Regions from separate parts of the Homo sapiens genome. Here all the other regions are linked to region 1. The links are contacts of gene promoters, found by promoter capture Hi-C in human tissues and cell types (Jung and others, 2019). All regions are on one chromosome and are shown on one strand. The core of a region is centred on a gene start or on the middle of the fragment in contact, and the rest is flanking DNA. Distances in the headings are between cores, read along the strand shown. Region 1 holds the start of NPM3 (nucleophosmin/nucleoplasmin 3). Region 2 has its middle 13 kb from the start of BTRC. Region 3 overlaps BTRC (beta-transducin repeat containing E3 ubiquitin protein ligase).

Region 1 (3,341 bases), core at 281-2,780:
TGACTTCCAACCAAAGCCTTTGAGTATGCACTAAATAGGTGAGAAGAAAGGAGAGAAGGTTTTTAGGTTAGAAACCTTTAACCGATAGAAGGATATGGTATGTTGTAAAGCTGGAACCAAGTTTGCATTTTTGAGGGCTTGAGATGAAGGGAAGACTCTTACCAGATAGTAAGACAGCTGAGTTTTCCTCAGTTTTCTCGTCTTAACACTAGTGGACAATTCTAGCATTTTGTTTGGAGGATTTCAGAGTTAACCTCATGGAATTCAGGATTTTTTAGCAAGTTTGCTTTTGGTTTTATCTTGGCTTTTAGTAATCATGTTGGCTGGTCTGGTCACAGGTGACTGTGAAACAGATGCCCTGGTCTTGCTTTCATCACTCTAGGATCATGAAGTGCTATGCTATTTCCTGGTTATGAATATTAAGGTTGGAATTACATTTTTATTGATTGTTTGGATCAGAGCTCAGTTCCTGTAGAAAACGAACTGTAAAAGACCATGCAAGAGGCAAAATAAAACTTGAAGTGAATGCTTGTCGTGTTGTATTGTGTGAATCTATTTCCTGTCTGCCCCCTCCCTTTTCTCCTCTTTCATGCCTCACCTACAAGCAGGTATTCTCTCCTCTCCACAGCTGTTCCAAGTTAGAGATTGGATCTTGAAGGCAGCCCTCCCCTACCTCCATCACCAGTAAGACTTCCAGATTTTCATTAAGACAAGAGCTAAGAAAAGTAGACTAGTTTTTAGCCAAGCCACCCCACCCTCTTGCCACAGTTATAACCTGGATGTGAAATAGGGCCTCTAGTTTGAGTTTTGCCATCTATTAGGATAGAAAGCACACAGTTTGCCTGATTCTTAAAAGGCGAAAGATGGCGCGAGTAGCATAAACTGACAAAATAATCCACGGCGCAAAGATACTCCTGGATGATTTGGAATTAAAAGCTCAAAAAGCGTGGGTGGGCCAGGAACAGCCAACACACATGAGCTAACTAGTCCTCTGCTAGCAAGTGCCAGCAGCTAAGTCTCAGTGAAGGCATAGCAAGTTGCGGGGTCTTTAGAGCAGGAAGAATTAAGAGAGGCTTAGCCGAGAGGACAGACAGGACAGACGTGTTGGGATGGAAATTCCTAAGGCTCCTCGGCTCTCTTGAGGCAAAGACAATCTGAGTGCATTTCCTTTGCTTGTAGCAGAAAAGCACTGCCCTGAACCCCACCTTTGCTGGGAGGAGTAAGAAGGGTTTACATTTTTATATCTATAACTCCTTTAACGAAAGCTTACCCTGGGTTGGAAGAGTGGGAGACACTCTTCCGACACAGAGCGAGGAGCTTGGGGAAGTGGACACCCTCATGGTCGTGGAAATGAGCAAGGATGTTAACATAAACCCCAAATCCATTCTTCTGTGATGTTACTTCCTTTCTCTTCGGTCTTGATAAAATATGAGCAGAAGCTGCGGGCTCCGGGTAGGGCTGCGGGGTCTCGGCGCCTTTTCTTTTCCAGGACTGTGCGTCTCCTTTAATGGGCGGGGCCGGAACTGGCCGAGGGTCCCCGGCTTTGTGCGTGTCGGGGGCGGAGTTTGAAGAAGGCTCTTACAGCATGGCCGCCGGTACTGCAGCTGCCTTAGCGTTTTTGAGTCAGGAGAGCCGAACGCGGGCCGGGGGTGTCGGGGGCCTACGGGTCCCGGCCCCGGTCACTATGGACAGTTTTTTCTTCGGTATTAGTGAAGGGAGAGGCTGAGGGTGGTACTGGGGCGGTAAGAGGTAGGGATGTGAGGCGGGAATGCGGAGGGTTTCAAGGCGTGGGTGTGGGCGGAGGGCTGCTTCGCTGTTCCCGCAGGAGAGGGGGCCTCGCACGCACAGCCAAAGGGGGTGGCGAGATCCCTGCCCCAGATGTGTTGGGCGGGGCCCACGGCAGAGCGTCCCAGGTGTTCTGAGAGAAGAGACGGAGGTGGACGTGTAAATGACCCGTCCGCCCAAGGTTACACGTGACGGCGGGTTGGTGACATCCCCCGCTGCCCAGCCCCGTACACACGCTCAGGCATACTCACTGTTATTTCTACCAGGCTGTGAGCTCTCCGGCCACACCCGCTCCTTCACCTTTAAGGTAGAGGAAGAGGATGATGCGGAGCACGTGCTGGCACTAACCATGGTGAGGGGCAGGGGAGTGGGGTTTTAATGAATAAGCCCAGGCAGGCAATATAGGTCTCTACCCAACCTCCGGATCCCCTTTACTTGGAGACACATCCTCAGCCTAACCCCCCGGCATGGGCGGCTCCCCTGGCCAGGTGAACCGGGACCTCTGAGGCTGGGCAGGTGCTAGGGTAGATGCCTTTAGTTGTGGTGTCAACCCTCACTTGAGGAGACCCTGAGGCCCTGTGTACCGTTCCCAGCTCTGCCTCACCGAGGGAGCCAAAGACGAGTGTAATGTGGTAGAAGTTGTGGCCCGGAACCATGACCATCAGGAGATCGCAGTCCCTGTGGCCAACCTCAAGCTGTCCTGCCAACCCATGGTGAGTTCCCCAGCTCTGCCTTGGTGGTGGTGGTGGTGGTGGTGAGGGGATTGAGGACGTTAGCACTCATTACAGTGTGGGGTGGGCTAGGAGTGGGCCAGGCCTTCATCCTTGTCTTCCTCCCAGCTCAGTCTGGATGACTTCCAGCTCCAACCACCTGTAACCTTCCGCCTGAAGTCGGGCTCTGGCCCTGTGCGGATCACTGGGCGGCACCAGATTGGTGAGAAGAGGGGAGGGCCCTCTCCTTTGCTTCCAGTGGACTCTCCCATCAGGCTTCCCCCACTCCGCACTCCTGCCCCATCCCACCCTCATCTCCCAGTGCAGCCCTGTACAGGTCTGTGTGCCCTCCACGCTGTGCCCTGTGCATGACATGCCCTCTCCTTTCCGTCTACTCAAGCCTACCTCCTCCATGGAACATGGCCCAACTTCTCCAGCTCCAATAATGAAGACTCCTTTGGCTCTTTGTGACCCAGTTTAGGGTCTGAGGTTCTTCCCACCTAGCCCATAAGCACTGGGAGGTCATGGTCCCTGTAAGCCTAACACCACGGCGTGAAGAAATGGCATGCGGTGTGAAACGGTCTGGTCTTAACACCCCATCCTTCTACTGCTTGTGTGTCCACCAGTTACGATGAGCAATGATGTTTCTGAGGAGGAGAGCGAGGAAGAGGAAGAGGACAGTGATGAGGAAGAAGTTGAGCTGTGCCCCATCCTTCCTGCCAAAAAGCAGGGGGGCAGGCCCTAGCCCTCCTAGGTGAGTTGCGGGGAGAAGTGCCTAGCAGGCTCTGGGAAGGGGCAGGAGAAGCAGGTGAGGGCCTAAATGCTGATTCCTTGTTTCCTCTTTTC
Region 2 (3,341 bases), core at 273-2,772, 440 kb after region 1:
TCACCTTCCATCATTTCTGTAATATCTTATGGAACCAGGGTTCTTTTACAGGTAGTCTAACTCCAGATCTTAAATGCAGTGACAGTTTTTTATTTATTAACACATGTATCCAAAGCAGGAATTCATGTCTAAACAAACAAAAAGAGTATTCACCTTGGTTATAAAGATATACTTCATATATTTGCTACATATGTTTCCCAGGTTGGGAGATTAATCAGTTTTTAGTCTTCAGTGCTGACAAAGCTATCTTTCCCTTGCTTTCTGTGCCTGGATTTCTTAGACACTTTTTGACCAACATTGTTTAACATACTTTATTTTGTATAGTTTAGTCAAAGTTTGAACAGGTTGTTTTATCTTTAACTGGCATTTGTCCAGACTCCCCCACTACCATGTCTTCAAGCTGGTGATTTCCTTTATCTGGCTGCTTTAATTTCCCAGACATTTACATCGTCTGCAGCTATATTTCGTTGGATACCCCTTCCCTCCTAAAAAATGCCTTTTGAGGAAGAGGTGATCGAGGTCAGGATTACTTCTAAGAGTCAGTGTTAAAAACTCACTATTTTCCTTGTGTCTATCACTCTGCAGATAAGAGATGGGCCTTGCCTTCAAGAAGCTTTCCATTATGTGAAGGAAACAAGACATAAAAATAGATACTAACTAGGGCTCTTTTGACAATAGTATGGATTTGTATCAGTCACAGTCCTGGCATATGTAGACTTGATTAATTTCAGAAGGGTTTAATTAAGGACCTATTTGCAAAGGTGTGGACAGAGTGAAGGGAGACCAACAAGGGCTAGTGCATACCCCTCAGCTAGCAACAGCAGACAACCATATTACTCCTAGGCCCCAAGGGCCAAGGGAAGGGCATAGTTACCAAGACCCTGAGAAGGTGGCTGTGGGGAAAGGACCACTTGACCATAGCTATGGCATTCAAAAAGGGATGTAGCCCTTTCATGGCAGCCCAGCAGGGAGGGATCTGGAAGAATCATATACCAGCATCCTCCTGCTCTTTAATCTTCTGATATCTCCTTTTGGTTAAACACAAACAGAAGCCAGAGGACAAGAGAGCCTTTGATGCAGTCCATTTGTGTTCATCTCCCAGGTCCAGAGAGGGCTGGGAAAGGATGGAGAGTGCCTCTAGAAAGGCAAAAGGAAGAGTTTAGCATGGGACTGGTTTGGGGGTGGATGAGAGCTGGCAGCTGGACAGAACTTCAGGGCAGGGCAGGTCATTGAGGGAGGCCCCAGAAGCAGGTACCAGGAAAAAAATCAAGGGGGGCTTTCAGTGGGAAGGATCTTTGATGACAAGCAAATTAGTAGGCAGAGAGAAATCCAGATAGCCAGGCTATAACCCCAGGAGGTCTGGGAGCAGGTTGGGGCAGGAAGTGGGGAAAAGGCAGGACTTTCTTATCAGAGAATTGCCTCTTAAATTAAATGCAATGTCATTCATGCATCAAGAAACATATTTTGAGAGGAACAACCCTGAGAAGGGGCAGCAAAGGGAAGGAGAGAACCAGGGCAGCTGTCCAAAGAGGTCTGGACTCCCACCCCAGACTATTTGTCTTCATGGGACTCTCCTATGAATGTCCCCTTTATAGGCACCTGGATATTAGGAACCCATAACTATCTTTTTCTTACTGGCCCAAAAAAACCATTTGACTTGGTTTGTCCTTATCGCAACTAAGATAGGCTATTTTTTAAAATTTTTAAATAAATGATTGATTGCTTGTTTATTCATTATGTACGTTTCTCTCTCTCTCTCTCTCGTTTTAGAGGCAGGGTCTCACTATGTTGCCCAGGCTGGTCTTGAACTCCTAGGCTCAAGTGATTCTCCCACCTCAGTCTCCTAAGTAGCTATGCCACTGCACCCAACTGGCTTTTTTTTTTTTTTTAAGATAGAGTCTTACTCTGTCGCCCAGCCTGGTATGATCTCGGCTGACTGCAACCTCCACTTCCCGGGTTCAAGTGATTCTCCTGCCTCAGCCTCCTGAGTAGGGATTACAGGTACCACCACGCCTGGCTAATTTTTTTTTTTTTGTATTTTTAGTAGAGATGAGGTTCCACCATGTTGGCTAGGCTAGTCTCAAACTCCTGATCTCAAGTGATCCAACTGCCTTGGCCTCCCAAAGTGCTGGGATTACAGGCGTGAGCCACCATGCTTGCCTGAACTGGCTATTTTTTTTAAAGCACCTTAATTCAGAATAACAAAACAACCAGGAAAAAGAAAACAACTAAAATTAAACACACACACACACACACACACACACACACACACACACACACACACAGAAAAGGAAAAAAGGCATGGAAGAATATGGATGTGTGTATTTATTTATTTATTTTTATTTTATTTTTGAGACAGGGTCTCACTTTGTCACCAGGCTGGAGTACAGTGGTGCCATCTTGGCTCACTGCAGCCTCGACCTCCCAGGTTCAAGGGATCCTCCTGCCTCAGCCCCCAAGTAGCTGGGACTGCAGGTGCTGACCACCACACCCAGCTAATTTTGTATTTTTAGTAGAAACGGGGTTTCACCGTGTTGCCCAGGCTGGTGTCGAACTCCTGAGCTCAAGCGATCCACCCCCCTTGGCATCCCAAAGTGCTAGGATTACAGGCGTGAGCCACGGTGCCCGGCCAGGGTATGTATATTTAACTTTGAATTTAACATTCAAACATATAAAAAAGTAAAGAGAATAATACAATAAATTTCCTTTTACTCATTACCCAGCTTCAAAAATACTGACTTATAGTCAGTTTTGTTTTGTGTGTGCCCTTACCCACTTCTTTCACCCTTTTCTGGCTCATATGGATGCAAATGTCTGGTATCATATCATTTCATAACTATAAAAGCAGCTTACAGTATATTAAGGTCACGAAGTGCTGTACTGATCTGTTTCTGATCTCAAAGCTTTCCTGAGCATAGAGTTCCCTTATCCTTAGCAAGCACTTTTCTACATAGTTATTAAATGGACGCATGACCAAACATTACTCTTCAGTCTCTGTCAGAGAACTGTCCCAAACCTGTCTCAACTGTCAGCAATCTGTCTAAACTTTATGCCCAACCCCTGGCTTCTCCCTGCTGATTCCAGTGCTGGTCTGAGAGTCTGCCTCATTCACAGCAGAGCCCCGGAGACTGACCCTCTGGTTTAGACTCAGTAGTCCAGATTTAGCTGGACCAGGAGGAGACAATCTATGGAAAGCAGTTTGCCCAGGCCCCAGCTCATGGTAAGGACTCAGTAAACATTAGATGCTAGTAATGATGATGATGGTGATGATGATGACAACGATGATGACAAGGGCCTAACAAAGAATTTTGTCAAGGACTCAGGCCCAGAAAGGACACAAT
Region 3 (3,341 bases), core at 297-2,796, 260 kb after region 1:
GGAGTAAATTTTTTTTTAAAAAAGGGAAGAAAACTGACACAGGAATAAAGTCAACATGTAAAAACAGAAGCAGCAACAAGAAAGTCGAGGGAATAATGGAGGAAGTTGACACGGGATGTATAAGTATTTGGAATTTCATGGGTTTATCATGGGATTAAGAGGATAAACATGCCCAAAGACAAGGGGATATAGTCAGAACTCTGAAGGATACTCAAAAGAGCGGGAATGGGTTTCTGTGGATAAAGAGATAGGGGAAAAAAGTGGTAATTAGTGCTGGATCCTGGATTACTTCACCTACCCTTTAGAAAGGCTCAAAAGCCATCTTCTCAATGATTGTTTTTTCTTTGTAACTAACATAAAAGATCTTGCCATTTAGTGCCAATCCCAAGCAAAACTGTGGAGCCTTTTACCTTTGGCATTTTCACATCCATCTGCCAAGAACTGCCCACTTACTTCTTGATCTTTCTGCCTTCAAAAAAGGACTCAGTAAACTCCCAATTTATGATGAAGGTTTACTGTCATTTACAGTCCAAATGGGAACACAATGTATTTTAACAGGTAACAGAACCTTTATAGCTAAAGGAATGAATCTCCTTAACTGAAATTTCAGGAGTTATTTGGAGACGAGATTCTTTTTTTCTGAGGGATACAGAAATCTTCTCAGCTGCCCTAAAATTTTCTCATGTAAGCAACTGCCTGCTGTATCCCCAAGGCTGGTCCCAGCACTCTTAGCAAAATGATGGACCCCGAATACCATATAACTCCATTTTTATTTGCTTTGTTGTACTATTAAAGAGTTTATTTCCAAAGTATGAAGTAGGTTATGAAAGATTTCTATTTTTCTATGTAGCGAAATAAGAATTAAAAAACATATTTGAGAAGTAGTAATAATATTCTTTTGTGTGTGTGTGTGTGTGTGTGTGTATGTGAGAGAGAGAGAGAGAGAGAGAGAGAGAGACAGAGAAAGAGACAGGGTCTTGCTCTGTTGCCCAGGCTGGAGTGCAGTGGCATGACCACAGCTCACTGCAGCCTCAACTTCCCAGACTCAAGCCATCCTCCCACCTTAGCCTCCTGAGTGGCTGGGATTACAGGCATGCGCCACCAGGCCCAGCTAATTTTTTGATTTTTTTGTAGAGATGAGGTCTCAATATGTTGCCCAGCCTGGTATCAAACTCCTGGGCTCAAACGATCCTCTTGCCTTGGCCTCCAAAACTGTTGGGATTACAGGCGTGAGCCACCCCACCCGGCCAACAATATTCTTTGTTACACAGCCTAAAAATTGCCTAGTTTTTTTGTTCCTTTAATTCAATTTGAGAGAAAAATTTAAACAGTCTTCCTAATAGCCAGAATGATAAAAATCTGAGGCATTTGGTATAATATTTATAGGTCATTGTATTTATTATGTGTTAATAAATTTCAAAGATAGAAAAAAAGAAAGAGAGCCAACTACTTTTTCATGAAAATTCAAAGGAAAGCTGGCCCATGAATATTTATCTTTTAAAAGTGTTCTCTACTTTTAACTGTTTTCCTCTTTATGATCCAAGATAAACAACTGATAAAATTAATTTGGAAGGACATCACTAAGCACACACATGCCTATTATAATTTTTTCTGTCAATGAGAATATTTAATATGTCACCTTTATTTGTGAACTATTACTACGTAGCTTTCCTATAGTGACATTCTAGAGACATACTCTGAGAGAAAAGTATTTAAAGAAAGATATCTTTCAGAAGTTCTAATGAAATAGTACTGTTAAGAGAACAACAAAAAAATTAGTGAAGTCTCTTAGACTGCTAACTATATGATGCTTTGGGGAATTCGGAATTAAGTCAGAAAATCTTGAAAAACAGAAGTCTTAAGAAGAAACAATGATTTATACTTAATTTCATTTTCACTTTTTCTGATGGCTAGAGTTCTTATTCCACTTGGGCTTAAAAATAATTTTTGATTACAAAGGTGACAAAACACCAGAGGCATAAGATAAAGGCAAGAAATTTTCTGAAAGAAACCTAGGGTTCATGCGATTCTCCTGCCTCAGCCTCTACAGTAGCTGGGATTACAGGTGCACGCCACCATACTCGGCTAAATTTTGTATTTTTAGTAGAGTTGGGGTTTCGCCACGTTGGCCAGGCTGGTCTCAAACTCCTGGCCTCGAGTGATCTGCCCACCTTGGCCTCCGAAAGTGCTGGGATTGCAGGCGTGAACGCACTGTGCCCAGCCACAGGATACCAACTTCTGCCCAGATAACAGAATGTTTTAAACAGGAGGGCTGATCAGCTTTCCATTATTTTTTGCAAAGCAGTATTAATACAATATCATGTCATTTTGTGAGTGACAGGTAAGAAGAAAAACTGCTGAGTATATGAACATTTGTTCTCTGTTACATTTTAAGCTAGAAATCAACAAAATCACCATATTAAATGAGAAGTGGTCTCATTGGCTCCCCAAAAATCTTTCAGTGACTGTGAATGGCCAGGTCCTGAAGCCGTATAAGAGTAAGAAAAGTTAAAGGCTCACCATCCTCTTCGTTCTGCCAGGCCTCTCCACAGAGAATCTGTCCTGACCATTCTCTCGATAAGCTTCTTCCACAGCATGCCATCAGAGGTCACTCGGTACCATTCCTTGCACACAAGTTCAGCAGCACATAGTGATTTGGCATCCAGGTATGACAGAATGTTCTCAGCAATATGATCCAATCCCCGAGCTTTCAGTAGGGGGAGGAGGCAAAGAAAAAGAACACAGAAGGTGGCGAATGATTTTTTACAAAAGGTCCTTTAAAACAGAACAGCATTTGTTCTGCTATGAAGGCACATCATTGTCCCTAGTGTGGTCCAGTTTCTTTTTCAAACAGAGGCTTGGGTAAAATGAGTGTCAATAATTTTTCCATAAGGTTACAGAAATGAACAGTATTTTCCATCTTCCTTTAGATAAGGAAGTTAAAGCTAACAACCAGCAAACCCCCCAAGACATTAAAAATAAAAAGGATTCCAGAAAACAATTCACATCTATCTATATGGATTTCAGCACTAGGGGATGTTCTATGGATGGCATCTCAAACTCTATGATTCAGACCCCCCCAAATCTCTATATTAGGTCCATTTCTCATTCTGTTTCTATTACTGCTGTAGTTCCAAAGCTGTTCGGTAAAAGAAATGTCCTTTAAATGTACTAGGGGAGAGGCACTAAGTCAGAATGTGCTGGGTTATAGAATTTTGGGCATGCAGAAAGGAGAGAAGAAGGAAATACAGAATGGCATGGAAATATCCCAAGAGAAAGACAGAGATGTATGTTTAAGTTCAAGAATGGGTTTAATTTCAGATTTAAAAAAACTATATTTG

The links. Contacts are between HindIII fragments. The study calls those that stand out against the background at their distance.
Region 2: a contact is called between a fragment that was not itself captured here and the fragment with the promoter of NPM3 in region 1, in 1 of the 25 tissues and cell types used here (lymphoblastoid cells).
Region 3: a contact is called between a fragment that was not itself captured here and the fragment with the promoter of NPM3 in region 1, in 1 of the 25 tissues and cell types used here (neural progenitor cells).

What each region holds. Positions count from the first base shown.
Region 1 is chr10:101,781,635-101,784,975 of GRCh38, reverse strand. NPM3 (nucleophosmin/nucleoplasmin 3) reads left to right here and starts at 1,530. Exons shown (of 6, transcript NM_006993.3): 1 at 1,530-1,703; 2 at 2,052-2,137; 3 at 2,379-2,498; 4 at 2,625-2,718; 5 at 3,122-3,249. The coding sequence starts at 1,586. The coding sequence ends at 3,240. OGA (O-GlcNAcase) reads left to right here. Exons shown (of 16, transcript NM_012215.5): 16 at 1-526. RefSeq lists an enhancer at 1,963-2,602. The HindIII fragment of the contact is 4,177 bases long and covers 493-3,341 here.
Region 2 is chr10:101,339,728-101,343,068 of GRCh38, reverse strand. No RefSeq gene overlaps it. Among named protein-coding and RNA genes, the nearest start is that of BTRC, 13 kb to the left of the region's middle. The HindIII fragment of the contact is 3,205 bases long and covers 1-3,124 here.
Region 3 is chr10:101,525,379-101,528,719 of GRCh38, reverse strand. It overlaps BTRC (beta-transducin repeat containing E3 ubiquitin protein ligase), which reads right to left. Exons shown (of 15, transcript NM_033637.4): 6 at 2,521-2,707. Among named protein-coding and RNA genes, the nearest start is that of POLL, 61 kb to the left of the region's middle. The HindIII fragment of the contact is 3,858 bases long and covers 1-3,341 here.